Regions from separate parts of the Homo sapiens genome. Here regions 1, 2 and 4 are each linked to region 3. Evidence: promoter capture Hi-C in 16 types of primary human blood cells and fetal thymus (Javierre and others, 2016). All regions are on one chromosome and are shown on one strand. Each heading gives the region's core, a stretch centred on a gene start or on the middle of the fragment in contact. The rest is flanking DNA. Distances are from core to core; before and after follow the strand shown.

Region 1 (3,737 bases), core at 882-3,381, 400 kb before region 3:
TCTGGCTATGGCTGGGGGACACGTGGAGTTACAGTGCCAGCTGTTCCCCAATATCAGTGCCGAGGACATGGAGCTGAGGTGGTACAGGTGCCAGCCCTCCCTAGCTGTGCACATGCATGAGAGAGGGATGGACATGGATGGAGAGCAAAAGTGGCAGTACAGAGGAAGGACCACCTTCATGAGTGACCACGTGGCCAGGGGCAAGGCCATGGTGAGGAGTCACAGGGTCACCACCTTTGACAACAGGACATACTGCTGCCGCTTCAAGGATGGTGTAAAGTTCGGCGAGGCCACTGTGCAGGTGCAGGTGGCAGGTAAGGCTGGTGGCTAGCTGGCTGTCAGTCTACTTCCAGGCATGGCCTTGGGGCCCAGCGTGTTCAGGTGGAGGGCTTTTCAGTAGGGTGAGAGTGCACTCTCCCAGCTGCCGTGCTGGCCTGCACTGCTCCCGGGAAGCACAGCGGTGAAGGCAGAGCCACCTTCCTCATCTTCCTTTCCCTCCTTACACCAGTGGACTGGAAAGTGAAGGGAAGGGAAAGAGAGAGATGGGGGGAATGAGAGAGACACAGAGAAGAAGAGATAGAATGAGAAAGAAGCAGGGAGAGACAGACAGAGGTGGAAAGAGAGATGGAGAGAAAGACAGAGAGATGAGAGAAAGACAGAGAGAGATGAAGAAAGAATGACAGAATTATAGAGATGGGGAAAGAGAGAGATGGAGAGGGAGGGACAGGCAGAGACAGAGAATGAAAGACAGGAGAGACAGAGATGGAGAGAGACAGAGAGAATGAGAAACTGAGAGAAACACAGAGAGAATGAAAGAGACAAAGAGACAGAGTCAGTGACAGAGAGAGGGAGATAGAGACAGAGACAGAGAGACAGTAAAAGAAAATGAGAAAGACAGTAAGCAACAGAGAGTGGGAGGAAGAGAGAGACAGAGAAATAATGACAGGAGACAGAAAGGCCAAGAGAGAGAAGAGAGTCTTCAGATACGGGAGGTTTCCCGAGTGACTCAGAACTTGTGCTTCGAAACAGACAAGCCTGGGTCCCATCTTGTGCCATGAATTCTACTTCTGCAACACAGGATGCCTATTCAATCTTCCTGGACCTTTTCCACTTTGCTTCCCTTCTTTTGTCTGGGAAATGGGGAACTCTGTTAGGGATGGTGTGTAACACAGGGTAGGCAGTTTGTGAAATTGCCAAAATACATTGGAAATCCTCAAGATTTTGTTTTTCCTTTAAATAGAAGCAGCCATGGCTGCAAAGATTCAAGCTGCTGTCTCTTCCTTCAGGGCTGGGCAGAGAGCCCAGAATCCAGGTGACAGACCAGCAGGATGGAGTCAGGGCGGAGTGCACATCAGCAGGCTGTTTCCCCAAGTCCTGGGTGGAACGGAGAGACTTCAGGGGCCAGGCTAGGCCTGCTGTGACCAATCTATCAGCCTCAGCCACCACCAGGCTCTGGGCTGTGGCATCCAGCTTGACGCTCTGGGACAGGGCTGTGGAGGGTCTCTCCTGCTCCATCTCCAGCCCCCTCCTCCCTGAAAGGAGGAAGGTGGCTGAGAGCCACCTGCCCGGTGAGTCCTCTATTCAGTTCTGTCCTCACAATCACTGAGCACAGGATTCCGTGGCCCTGGACACTGGGGACATTAAGAGACAGCTGTGGGGTTTGTGGCAAGCAGGGATGGGTGGCAGGTCCCTGTCCTCACATGGCTGGGGCATCCCAGGAGGTGCACTGTTTGGGTGCTGATTACTGAAGAGGAACAGAGATAAGGGTGCAGGGACCCTGGGGAGAGCCTTGCCTTTGGGGGAACAAGAAATGTACATCCTAATATCAACAGTTTTTAGGGTTTTTTAAAATAGGCTTTATTTTTTAAAGCAGTTTTAGGGTCACAACAAATTTTAGTAGAAAGTCCAGAGAGTTCCCATCTTCCCCTAACCCCCTCACACACCTTCCCCCAGCATAAAAACCCTACACCAGAAGGAACGTCCACCATGTTTGATGAACTTCCGTTGACAATGCCGTCAGCACCCAGAGTGCAGTTTTCATGAGGGCTCACTCTTGGCATGGTGTCCCATGGTTCTAGATAAATATATAATGCCACATATCTGTCATAGTATCATACAAAATAATGTCACTGCCCTTAATCCTCCGTGCTCCGCTCATTCATTCATCTCCCCTAACTCCTGGCCACCACTGATGTTTTCACTGTCTCCATAGTTTCCAGGTGTTCTGGAATGTCCTGTAGTTGGGACGGTGCCTCTGTAGCCCCTTCACTTTGACTTCCCTCACTTTGTGGTACGCATTTAGGTTTCCTCCATGTCTTTTCCTGCCTTGATAACTTGTTTCTTTTGTGAAATGAATAACGTTCCAGGATCTGGATGGACCACTGTTTATTGATCCATTCACCTACTAAAAAATATCTTGGTTGTTTCCAAATTTAGCTTTTCACAAAAACTTTCACTTTTACTTTTCTAAATGATGTCAAACTTACAGAAACTTTGCAAGATTAATAGAAAAGTTGTCTGTGCACCCTTTACTCAGATTCACCATATTTTTACCTTATTGCGATATTTCTTTTTATCACTTCTCCCTTTGTCTATCTACAAATAGATATCTAATATCTACTTCCTATGCATATGTCTAAACCCAACTGTCTTACTCCATTTGTGTGCCTATAACAAAATACCACAGACCAGGTGGCTTAGAAACAAGAGATAGCTATTGCCCACAGTTTTGTAAGCTGGGAAGTCCAAGATCAAGGCGTGGCAGATTTGGTGTCTGGCAAGGGCACTTCCTGGTTCATAGACAGCGCCTTCTCACTGTGTCCTCACATGGTGGAAGGGGTGAGGGAGCTCTCTGGGCTCTCCCCTTTATAAGGGCACCATTCCCATCATATCCGTTACAGGGGCTCCACCCTCATGACCTCATCACTTCCCAAAGGCCTCACCTCCTAACATCATCACCGTAGGGGTTGGGATTTCAACCCCTTTGGGGGACACAGACATTCGGTCCATAGACCAGCTGTGCAAATACATACTATTTTGGAAACTATTTCACAGTAATTTGCAAATATTATGTCCCTGGACTACTGAACTCTTTAGCAAGTTTGACCTCAGAACACAGAAACTCTCTTACCCCAATATTCCTGGCTTCTGGGAATCTTCTCCAGCTACCTTCTCCAGAAGCTCCCAGTTCACGGCATGGAAAGCAGCTCTGCCTCTGATCCTTGTTGCCATGGGACTCGTAATAGCTGGAGGCATCTGCATCTTCTGGAAACGTCAAAGGGAAAAGAACAAAGCATCACTGGAAGAAGAGAGGGAGTGAAGAGAAAAGGAGCAGAGGCGGCCCACCAGCAGCGACAAGGCTGAGCCATGGCGTGGTGAGCAGGGAGCCCCGACAAGGCACATCCTGCCCCCCCACCCCAAATCCAGGACCCTAACACGAAGCCCTGAGCTGAGGCTTCGTCCATGTGTCCTCAGACACAGTAGGAATGGGGTGGCCAGTGGGGATCCTCCCTCTGGCATTGCCTGATTATGATCTACCCAGTGAGACCATCTGTCTCCTAGCAATCCCTCAATTAAGTCTTCACTGGCTGATTTCAGGCAGGCTGGTTGGGCTCTGTCTTGAAAACAGACAGATCTGAGTTTGAACCCCAAGTCTGATGGGTGTGGGCTGAGGGACCTGGTGTGAGCCCTGAGCCACTCTGTCTGCTGGGAGTGCTGATACCATCCTGAAAGACCAA
Region 2 (3,420 bases), core at 581-3,080, 330 kb before region 3:
CTACCCTCATGGATCTCCATAGTCCTCCCGTAGGCTGTGGAATATGTGTGTTTGGCAAAGCCAAACAAGCACAGAGCTCCTGCCCCAACTCCTCCCTCCCCCAAAGTGCCTGGGCTTGGCCCAGGCACTGGGTTTGGCCAAGGCTGTGCTTCCCTGCCCGAGGGATGGCCACTTTGCAGGCTGTAACCCTCTACAAGAAGTGAAATCTGCTTTTCCAATTTATAGATCCTGTGATTTTTTCAGTTAACGCAAAGATAAAGCTGGACATTAAAGCAGTGAAAACAGATTTCCATTCAGTGCCAGCTGCAGTCAGTACAGAGTCGCCTCCATTGTAATTTGTGTAGGGGTGGCGGGGTGTCTTAAAGGGAAGGAGATGGGGTGAGCGGGGGCTCCGTGCCAATCAGATGAGACCATCTGTGTCTGCTAGTCAGCCAGGCCCAAAGTCAGGATTCTACCTTCTGGCAGAGACTAAGGCCTTCTCCCTCCTGGTTTCAAAGGAATGGCTCTGGGTTCCTCGAGGAGCCACTGCTAGATTGTAGGAGACACATGGACATCTCAACACGCCAAAGGAAGCATTCCCAGTTGTGAGCTGGTTTCAGTAAATGCTCTAGGAAAGGAAGAGCCTGGACCAGTCTTCAGGTGTTGGCTGGAATAGAACAGCAAATTCCTGCCACAGCTGCTATGGTCTGAATATTTGTGTCCTCTGATGTAGAAAAAAAACAACTGTTTTTCCTCTGATCTCACAACACAACAATGAACACAGAAGACATCTGTGACCAAACATGTGAGGATTTCTCCCTATCAGCAAGCAAGCAAGCAACCAATGTTTTAGTGGGCACCAGTTAGGTGTCCTTGAACCCAATTTAATTCCGACTTCAGCCAGGCACAGTGGCTCATGCCTTGGTAATCCCAGCGTTGGGAGGCAGAGGTGGGAGGGAATTGCTTGAGCCCAGGAACTGGAGACCAGTCTGGGCAACATAGCAAGACTCTGTCTCTACAAGAATGAAATAAGTAGCTGAGCACGATGGTGCATGCCTGTAGTCCCAGCTGCTCAGGAGACTGAAGTAGGATTGCTTGAGCCCAGGAGTTCCAGGCTGCAGTGAGCTAGGGTCTCACCACTGCATTCCAGCCTCGGCAACAGAGCAAGACCCCATCTCAAATAATCATAACAATAAAAAAACTAAATAAATAAACAAATTCTGACAGTATCTACCTGGAGATTGCATCAGATCCTATAGGTTGAGGGCTCAGTCCCCGAGGCTGCCTCTACTTCAGACACCATGGGCAAGTCCAAGCCTCCAGAACTTCTGACCAGCTGTAACTTGGAGTTCCCTCGACTCCCTCTTTAAGCTTGATTAATTTGTTAGAGCAGCTCATAAAACTAGAGAAACACTTACTTACATTTACCTGTTTATTTAAAGAATAGTTTAAGGCTACAAATAAATAGCCAGATGAAGGAATGCAGAGGGAGAGTTCTGCAAAGGTCCAAGCGCAGGGCCTTCTGACCCAGCGGAGTTGGGCTGCGCCACCCTCCCAGCCTGCAAATGAATTCTCCCTCACCCTTCCTGCAAGCCCCCACGAGTTCAGCCCTCCAGAAGCCCCCAAAACCTGTCCCCTTGGGCCTTTTATGGAGACTTCATTGGATGGACATGATAGAAGACAGCCATGTAGAAATGTGACCGGACAGAAAGTGTGGATGTAACCCCAACAGACTGAGCGGGGAACCCCAGCAGAGCCCATGTGTTCAGACTCTTCTTGGCCTCTCTGGGCAGCATCCTTCCTCCTGGGTATGGGGCAGGACCCTCTCTGAACTGGGAGTCTTATGACCCACAATCAGAAAAGGGAAGTCAGAAAATGTCCTTATGGCCAGGTCCGAGACAGAAAGGTGGGGAAAGACTACAGTTTTCATTTCTGTGGCCTGCCTGGGGAGCAAAACGAGTAGGTAAAAGGAGGGTGGGAGAAGGTCGGAGAGATAGGTTCTGTTTTGGAGGCCTGAGCACCCCAACATTCTAACAAATACTGTTGCTGCAGGACTTTTCCTTAGTTCAGCTAGAGAACTCCGGCCTGTGTAGTGCCTTCAGCTAAGGCGAACAGTGAAAGATGTGGAGGAGGGGAGTTATGAGAAGCAGTGGTGGAGAGGGCCGGCGAGTTAAGGCCTGGCATGTAGATTTCACTGGTGCTGTCTCCTGGCTGATAAGCATCTAAAATCATCTCACATGATTAAATTGATTCCTTCCTGGTGGAGAGGCAAAGACAACTTTGTCCATTTTGTCCTGCTTTTAGGAAAATAGGGGCAAGCAGAAAGCTTTTTTACATCCGTTGTTTCTCAACAATGGATTATTATTGGCCTTCAGCTCCAAATAATCCTTGTGCCAAAGTGGCATCCTTTGGGGAAGAGGTGGCATCCCTTGAGGAGGGGGTGGCACCTTTTAGAGATGGGTGGCTTCCTTTGGAGAGAGGGTGGTATCCTTTGGGGAGGGGTGGCATTGTTTAAGGAGGGGGTGGCATCCTTTGGAGAGGGTGTGGCATCATTTTGGAAGGGGTGGCATCCTTTGGAGGGGGTGGCATCCTTTCGGGAGGGGATAGCACACTCTACAGAGGAGGTGCCATCCTTTGGAGAGTCGGTGGCATCATTTGGGGAGGGAATGGCACCCTTTGGAGAGGAGGGGGCATCCTTTGGGTGGCATCATTTGGGGAGGGGTGGCATCCTTTGGAGGGGGGTAGCATCGTTTGAGGAGGGCTGGCATCCTTTGGGGAGGGGATAGCATCGTTTGAGGAAGGGTGGCATCCTTTGGAGAAGGTGTGGCATTTTTGAGGAGAGGTGGCATTGTTTGGGGAGAGTTGGCATCCTTTGGGGAGGGGGTGGCATTGTTTGGGGAGGGGTGGCACCCTTTGAAGAGGGTGTGGCATCTTTGGGGGAGGGGTGGCATCATTTGGGAAGGGCTGGCATCCTTTGGAGAGGGTATGACATCCTTTGGAAAGTGTGTGGCATCCTTTGGAGAGAGGTGGCAACCTTTGGGGAGGGCACGGCACCCTTTGGGGAGGGGTGGCATCCTTTGGGGAGGGTGTGGCATCCTTTGGAGAGGAGTGGCATCCTTTGGGGAGGGTGTGGCATCCTTTGGGGAGGGTGTGGCATCCTTTGGAGAGGGGGTGGCATCCTTTGGAGAGGGTGTGGTATCCTTTGGAGAGGTGGTGGCACCCTTCAGAGAGGGTGTGGCATCATCTGGGGAGGGAGTGGTGTCATTTGAAGAGGGGTGGCATCCTTTGAAGAGGGTATGGCATCCTTTGGAGAGGGTGTGGCATCGTTTGGGGGAGGGTATGGCATCCTTTGGGGAGGGGTGGCATCCTTTGGAGAGGGTGTGGCATTGTTTTGTGGAGGGGTGGCATCCTTTGGGGAGGGTGTGGCATCCTTTGGGGAGG
Region 3 (3,603 bases), core at 993-3,492:
TTTCTTTCCTTTTTTTTTTTTTTTAGATGGAGTCTCACTCTATTGCCTAAGCTGGAGTGCAGTGGCGCAATCTCGGCTCACTTCAACCTCCGCCTCCTGGGCTGAAGTGATTCTTCTGCCTCAGCCTCCTGAGTAACTGGGATTACAGGCACACACCACCACGCCCAGCTAATTTTTGTATTTTTAGTAGAGAGGAGGTTTCACCATGTTGGTCAGGCTGGTCTCGAACTCCTGACCTCGTGATCCGCCTGCCTTAGCCTCCCAAAGTGCTGGGATTACAGGTGTGAGCCACTGCACCCCACCCACAATCTTTTATCTTAACCCAGACATTCCTTTCTGTTAATCCCAGGTCTTCAGGTAAATTCAACCAATTGTCAAACAGAAAATTTTTCAATCTACCTATAAGCTGGAAGCCAGCACCCTTGACCCCTGCTTCGAGTTGTCCTGCCTTTCTGAACCAAACCAATGTAGGTTTTAAATGTATTTGATTGATGTCTCATGCCTCCCTAAAATGTATAAAACCAAGCTGCACCCCAACCACCTTGGGAACATGTTCTCAGGACCTCTGTCCTGAGGGCTGTGTCACAGGCCATGGTTACTCATATTTGGCTCAGAATATATCTCTTAAAATATTTTACAAAGTTTGACTCTTTTCATCAACAGCAGCAAGCCACCAGCATTCCCAGTGAGGGAAGGGTAAAGGGAACTTTTTATCAGTGAAAAGGGAACTTTTATCAGCGAAAAGGGAGCGGTTCACAGAAGCTGCTTAGAAAGAGTTCATTGGTTCCAGGGGCCCAACGCCAAAGCTCAAAGTTGTCCTCAGTTCATTGGTGGCGCTGCCATTACTGGGCAAGTGTTTATTCCGAGCATCTTAACTGAATTACTGCAGTCCTAAAGATGGTCTAAATTTTGTCAAAGTAGGAGACCCGTGAATGACACAAAAGGGTTTCTTGTGGGGTTTTTAGAAAGTCCTTGCGAATAATTCTTATCTCAGACACTAAGCCTGAGCCTCCTGTTCTTCCCAGCCCTGTTTGTCTGGGCCTGACAAAGTGATTTCACTCCTTATTTGTAACTTTCACAAAACAAAGGCCCTGGTCTCATGAACTCATTGCACAAAGTGACCCTGGTTCGCTGAGGCAGATAGGCGATGCTATCTGCCTGCCCTGGTCCAAACATCTCATCTGGAATACTGCAGGCCAGTGGAAATGCCCGGAATAAGCTCTGTTTACAAGGTAATAGCGAGCCTCTCTGGCATTTCAGAAATGCGTGACAGCTGCTTCCTTAGGGCCCTCCCCACTCCATTTTGGTTACGTTGTGACATAAATTACTCCATTTTGCTGTGAACTACAGGGTCATTTCTCAGCCCCCGCCAACCCCGCGGATCCCCCCTCAGCCCCGCTGTATCAGCCTTTCGGATCCTCCTTCAGCCTCTCAGGTCCTCCTCAGCCCGCTGCGTGCCTCTTCAGCCCCCCTTGAACTTCCGTCATCCCCACAGATCCTCCCTCAGCCTCCCTAGATTCCCACCTCAGCGCCCATGGATCCTCCCTCACTGCCCCCTGGGACCTCCCTCAGTTCTGCAGATTCCCCCCTTAGCCTCCTGGGACCTCTCTCACCCCTTCTAGATCCTCTCTCAGCCCCGCAGATCCTTCCGCAGCTCCCCCTGGATCCTCCCTCAGCCCAGCTGGTGCCCACTCAGCCCCGCGGATCCTCCTTCCCTCAGCCCCCGCCCGGGTGCTCCCGCAGTCCCCCTGGGTCCTCCCTCAGCCCAGCTGATGCCCCTTCAGCTCCGAGGATCCTCCCTCAGCCCCCCTGCGTCTTCCCTCAGCCCCCTGCGTCCTCCCTCAGGACCCCTGGGTCCTCCCTCAGCCCTCCGGGACCTCTATCAGCTCTCCTGGATCCTCCCTCAGCCCTGCGGATCCTCCCTCAGCTCCCCACCCCGGGTCCTCCCTCAGCACTCCCCCACTCCGTCCTCCCTCAGACCCGCGGGTCCCCCTCGACCTCGCCGGCCCGCCCTGGTCCTCCCGGTAGGGACGGAGGTCACCTGCTCGCCGGCCCCGCCTGGGTTCTTGTACCGCCACAGCGCCCCCGCAGGCCCCGCCCACCTAGGCTTCGTCCCGCCCCCGAGATTACATCACGCCGCGCCGGCCCCGCCCAACAGGGGCGTATATCTTCGTGTCTCACCGCCCACTCTTGCCTCTCCCTGCCATGGAACACGTCATACCGCGCGACGCAGCGCCTGCCAGTGACGTCGTGGGCTGCAGCGCAGCAGCACCCAACGCAGTGAGTACCTTGATCTCCTGCGTGGCCTCGTCCCTGGTCTTAGTTCCACCGGGCAGCGGGAGTCAGGACCGCCTGTCCTCAGACCCCTCCGCAGCGACTGTGGCGGCCGCAGGTTGGCGCCTCGTGTGGGCCGGGAACAGAGGCGGGAGGCGCTGTACCCTCCCGGTGGAGTCGGGAGGGAGGGAGGCAGGGAAGGGGACAGGGGGCTGCACCTGTGATAAGCCCTTGTCCCCATGCAGTCTAGCAGGAAAGGAGAGGGAGCTTTCCCCGAAGACCCTCCTGGACCAGCCCCAGGCTCCTGTGCTGGTGAGGCCGAGGGAGAGGGATGTGGGCATAGGACACGTAGCAGGATTTCCATTTTAGAGGCAGCCGGACCTGTCTTCAGGTCCCTTCCTTGGTGAGAGACAGGGGTACGCCAGAGGAAGCTGGGCGCTCGGCCTCTGTGCAGCCTCATCTCCTGGAATCTGAGTATTGAAAACTGGGCTTTTACTTCGCACACCTCAGCACAGACTCCCATGGGAATCCAGGTCACAGCAAAGCAGCCCTGGGCCTCCATTCTCCTTTAAGCAAGCATGACAATCCTCACTTCACTGAGTTTTTATTAAAACTAGCAATGACCTTAGAAAGCAAGGCATGACCTCAGCTCCACTTTTGAGGCTGCAGTCCATTCAGAGAGGTTTCGCAGACTCGGTAACGGCCAGAACAGACAGCCTGGGCCCTGCCGCAGGCTGACTCAGAATCTTTGGGAGTAGTGACCAACTTCTGCTTTTGGAAAAACCTCTACAGGCGGTTCTGAGAAGTCCAAGGGTTGCTGGGAGAGGTTGGTGAGTGGCGTGGTGATTACATGTGTCTTGGAAGCATCCTGGGCTGGGATTTGATAAGAAACCATTAGGTGGAAGAACCTTCCTTTTAAAAAAGATCTCTTCATTCTCTGCCTAGCAGGTTGCACGCCAGGGCCTGTACTGACCACCTCCACGTGCCACTGGGGCTGTAAGGAGGAATGGCGGCCGTGGGCAGCCTGCTTGGGTAAGCATGGACTTTTAGGTCCCTGGGGATTACTGTCAGGGGCCACCCCAGGGAACCCCTCTCTTCAGCAGGAAACCGCCATTCTAATCCTCCCTAGTCCTTGCTATTGTCCACTGTCCCCTGTGCTGGAAGCTTTGTGCCCTTGCTCAGCCTGGCAGCCTCTTCCTGGCTAGGGGGCCAGAACGCCTCTGACCACAGCCTGTGGCTCCTGAGGAAGCCCCGAGGCTCATCCTGCCCCGGCACGGGTCACCAGCTCTGGTAATGTCTCCTGTGGCCCGGCAGTGCCCAATCACAGCC
Region 4 (3,589 bases), core at 283-2,782, 380 kb before region 3:
CCCCAACCCAGCCCAGTACTGAGGGACATCACCCCAGCTGACTGCACACAGTCTGACCATCCCAGAGATAACCTCGAAGCCCGGTTGTCTAGGGCAGGAACGCACAGGCAGTCAAAAGGTTTCTTGGGCTTCACACCTATTCAGAAGGATCTGGGTGCTGGGGCTAAGGGGACTGTCTAGGTGGGTTTAGGAGTTCTGTGTCTGTAAGTGGCCCTGTTCAGTGTGAGTTCGGCCTGTACCAAAGGTCTGCACAGCCTGCCCTACACCCTGCCCTGCCTGAGCCGGATGGGGGTCGCTCTGCCCGGTGGCAGGACCCCCAATGCAGGAGGAGCACCCAGGGACACAGTCTGGCTGGCTTCCCCTCCCCTGTATTGAAGAGCAGGACCCCAGGCTGGCTGTTGTCTCCTATTCTGTGTCCCACAACCAACCCGCCATGGGCAAGGCTCCAGACTCCCGGACCCGCTGCTGCCAGACTCTCAGAGCGGGTTTCTGAAAGATGGGAGAGGGGACAGGGGGTGCAGGCGAGGGCTGGGTGGCCCGGGGAGCAGACGAGAAGGTGGGCCAGGCCTGTGGACACAGTGGAATACAGAGGGGCAAGAGGCGTGATGTCTCCCCCAAGGGAAGAGTGAGTGGAGGAGTCAATCTGTAGGAACTAGAGGGGGTCTATGAGGGCGAGACAGGGCACAGCTAGTGATGGGACCACAAAGATGGGCGCTGGTGGGGGAAGGACTTCGTAGAAGGTAGGGGGTGGGGAGATAAGGCACCGCCCAGCAGGGGACACCAAGACGGGGAAGGGGACCAGACTCCGAAGAGACGCAGGAAATATGGGGAGGCAAGCCGCAGGAGGGAGGGGCCCAGCACACGCTGGAGAGGGGACCCGTGGCGGTGAGGGGAGGGGGACAATCCGGGGACGGGGACAATCCGGGGACAGGAACAGTGGAGACGGGAAGGGCCCAGGGCTCAGGGGGACCGGGGCGGGGGCGGAGAGGCGCAGGGCACCGTCCGGGGTGGGGCACGGGACCCCGCGGCGCGCACCTTGCCGCGCAGCGCCTTCCTCCAGCGCGGTTCCCACTCGGGCGGCTCGGGGCCCGCAGCCATACGGCAGGCGGCGCAGAGCGGGCCGGCGTCGGCGCGGCACAGCAGCTGCAGCGCGGCCTCGCTGGCCGGGCCGTCGCGCGCGGGCGCCGCGGCCGCCTCCTCGAGCGCCAGAAGGCGGCGGCTGAGCGGGGGCCTGCCGGGCTCCACGGCGCGCTGCCAGCAGTCGTCGGCGCACTCGGGGCACGGGAAGGGCCCGTCCTCCTCGGCCCAGAAGCGCACCACGCACGCCCGACAGAAGCGGTGGCCGCAGTCGGCGCGCACCGGTTCCCGGGGCGCGCGCTGGCACAGGGCGCAGGCGGCCTCGGCGGGGCCCGCAGGGAGCGCCAGGGCTGCGGGCGGCGGGGCCGGCAAGGGCGCAGGAGCGGCTGGGGAGGGCCGGAGACCTAGACGGCCGGCGACCGGACGGAGACCAGCAACAGGACGAAGACGCCAACGCCGGGGACGCGCACGGGGCGGGGTCGGGGACGCGCACGGGGCGGGGTCCGGACCGCGGAGCGCTCTGCCGATAAGATCCTGGCAGCGGTGTGCTGCAGCCGGAGGTCCTGGCCGCGCTGCGCTCCACAGACAAGATCCTGGCAGCAGTGTACTGCATCCTTAGGTCCTGGCCGCGGTGGGCTTCTCCGCCTGGATCCTAGCGGCGGTGCGCTCCTCCGCCTTGATTTTGGCAACTATGCTCTCCACCTGCAAGGTCCTGGCAGCGGCGCACGTCACCGCGCAAGTCCTGGCAGCTGCGCGCTTCACTCTACTGCCTGCGGACCGGCCCAAGTCGTATCCTGAAATCTTACTGGGCTGTCCCTTCCTACTTCAGTAACTCCTGCGAAAGAGGGAAACAAAGTTTTATTTTTACTTGAAGGTTCCATTTTTAAAAGGTTGTTTTTGTAAGCTGCTAGGATCTGAGCTGCGCGTACCCCCGCGGTAGCTCGCCCGCGTGGGCTGGGGACGGGGCGGGAAATGGCCTGCGTGGGCCTCCTCCGCTGCTCTCATCCTGCACGGACCCGCCCTGCATGGGCACGCCCTGCGTGCACGGGCCTGCCCGCGTGGACGTGCCCTGCGTGCACCCTTCCTTCAGGGACCCGCCCTTGAACGGCCCTCCGGACGTGGACACTCGTATACGCCCACCCTGCGTGGGATCTCCCTGCGTGGACCCATCCCGCTGAGCCTCTTCTCGCGCAGCCTCCCTCTGGCCCCCTGGGAAGCTACCCTGGTTGTCCGCTGTCTCCTGGCTGGGGGGAGCTCTCATTGATTCTGTGATGATGCATGACAGAAGAGCATTTGTTAGCTTTGCTTTGCTTTTCTTTCTTTTTTGAGACAGCCTCGCTCTGTTGCCAGGCAGGCTTGAGTGCAGTGGCGCGATCTCGGCTCACTGCAACCTCCGCGTCCCGGGTTCAAGCGATTCTCCTGCCTCAGCCCCCCGAGTAGCCGGTATTGCAGGCGCCTGCCACGACGCCCGGCTAATTTTTGTATTTTTAGTACAGACGGGGTTTCACCATGTTGGCCAGGCTGGCCTCGAACTCCTGACCTCGTAATCCACCCGCCTCTGCCTCCCAAAGTGCTGGGATTACAGGCGTGAGCCACTACACCCGGCCGTTAGCTTTTCTTTAAAAAATAAATTTAAAGGAAAGAAATAAGCCTTTGGGAAGAGCAATCTTGTGTTTTTGTTTTTTAATTATTTTGAAAACAAGCAAGCATGGTTAAAATAAGATTGTGCAAGTTTTGCATTTTAAAAAATTAATCTGGGCCGGGCGCCGTGGCTCACGTCTCTAATCCCAGCACTTTGCGAGGCCGAGGCGAGCGGATCACAAGGTCAAGATATGAGACCATCCTGGCTCATGGTGAAACCCCGTCTCTACTAAAAATACACAAATTAGCCGGGCGTGGTGGCGCATGCCTGTAATCCCAGCTACTCAGGAGGCTGAGGCAGGAGAATCACTTGAACCAGGGAGTCGGAGGTTGCGGTGAGCCAAGATCGTGCCACTGCACTCTAGCCTGGCGACAGAGCGAGACTCTGTCTTAAAAAACAAAAACAAAAAAAAATTTTTATAAATCTGTATTCCAAGCAAGCGCAGGATCTAATGAGGTATTTTTGTCTTTGTGAAGATTTTTTAAATCGACTTGGAAATGCACTAGATGCCCGTGGGAAACATGAATAGTAAACCGAGGTTATTTCTGTGTAGTAAAGATTAGAGGCTTCCAGCCGAGCCTTGCTGATATTGTTGAGTCAACTAGGAACTTGCTGGAGAGAAAAGTAAAAAATATAAAAAATGAGCAAACTTCATAATGAACTAATCTTGTGAATGAGAAAATATCAAAAATTATAATTAAAGGCAAATAGCCAAATTAGGAACATTGTAACCACAAATATACAAAGAGTTTATAAAATTAGGTAAGGAAAAGCATGATGGAAAATACACCTTGTCATGGGATTTTTCAAATCACAAAAAAAAAAGCACACAAATGATTGAACACACATGAGAAAAAAATGTACACTCTG

What was found. Contacts are between HindIII fragments. The CHiCAGO score rates a contact against its expected background, and 5 or more counts as called.
Region 1: a contact is called between a fragment that was not itself captured here and the fragment with the promoter of MRPL55 in region 3, in 3 of 17 cell types (naive B cells, total CD8 T cells and naive CD8 T cells). The highest score is 7.7, in naive B cells.
Region 2: a contact is called between a fragment that was not itself captured here and the fragment with the promoter of MRPL55 in region 3, in 6 of 17 cell types (naive B cells, total CD4 T cells, activated CD4 T cells and 3 more). The highest score is 9.3, in naive B cells.
Region 4: a contact is called between the fragment with the promoter of RNF187 here and the fragment with the promoter of MRPL55 in region 3, in 2 of 17 cell types (erythroblasts and naive CD8 T cells). The highest score is 6.1, in erythroblasts.

Annotation. Positions count from the first base shown.
Region 1 is chr1:228,508,228-228,511,964 of GRCh38, reverse strand. LOC105373124 (a long non-coding RNA gene) reads right to left here. Exons shown (of 3, transcript XR_949233.3): 2 at 3,131-3,264; 3 at 1,833-2,074. It also overlaps the pseudogene BTNL10P. Among named protein-coding and RNA genes, the nearest start is that of RNF187, 23 kb to the right of the region's middle. RefSeq lists an enhancer at 326-827. The HindIII fragment of the contact is 4,514 bases long and covers 1-3,737 here.
Region 2 is chr1:228,438,283-228,441,702 of GRCh38, reverse strand. The region is part of intron 1 of LOC124904538 (a long non-coding RNA gene); the gene reads left to right. Among named protein-coding and RNA genes, the nearest start is that of H3-4, 15 kb to the right of the region's middle. RefSeq lists a silencer at 1,030-1,314. The HindIII fragment of the contact is 955 bases long and covers 1,353-2,307 here.
Region 3 is chr1:228,107,938-228,111,540 of GRCh38, reverse strand. MRPL55 (mitochondrial ribosomal protein L55) reads left to right here and starts at 2,242. Exons shown (of 5, transcript NM_181463.3): 1 at 2,242-2,392; 2 at 2,520-2,586; 3 at 3,223-3,306. The coding sequence starts at 3,281. RefSeq lists a silencer at 1,797-1,886 and enhancers at 2,157-2,326, 2,595-3,308, 3,309-3,603. The HindIII fragment of the contact is 15,311 bases long and covers 1-3,440 here.
Region 4 is chr1:228,485,325-228,488,913 of GRCh38, reverse strand. It overlaps RNF187 (ring finger protein 187), which reads right to left and starts at 1,532. Exons shown (of 4, transcript NM_001010858.3): 1 at 1,036-1,532. The coding sequence starts at 1,425. RefSeq lists enhancers at 1-85, 86-814, 932-1,792, 2,094-2,473, 1,793-2,654 and silencers at 894-1,093, 1,354-1,473. The HindIII fragment of the contact is 25,988 bases long and covers 1-3,589 here.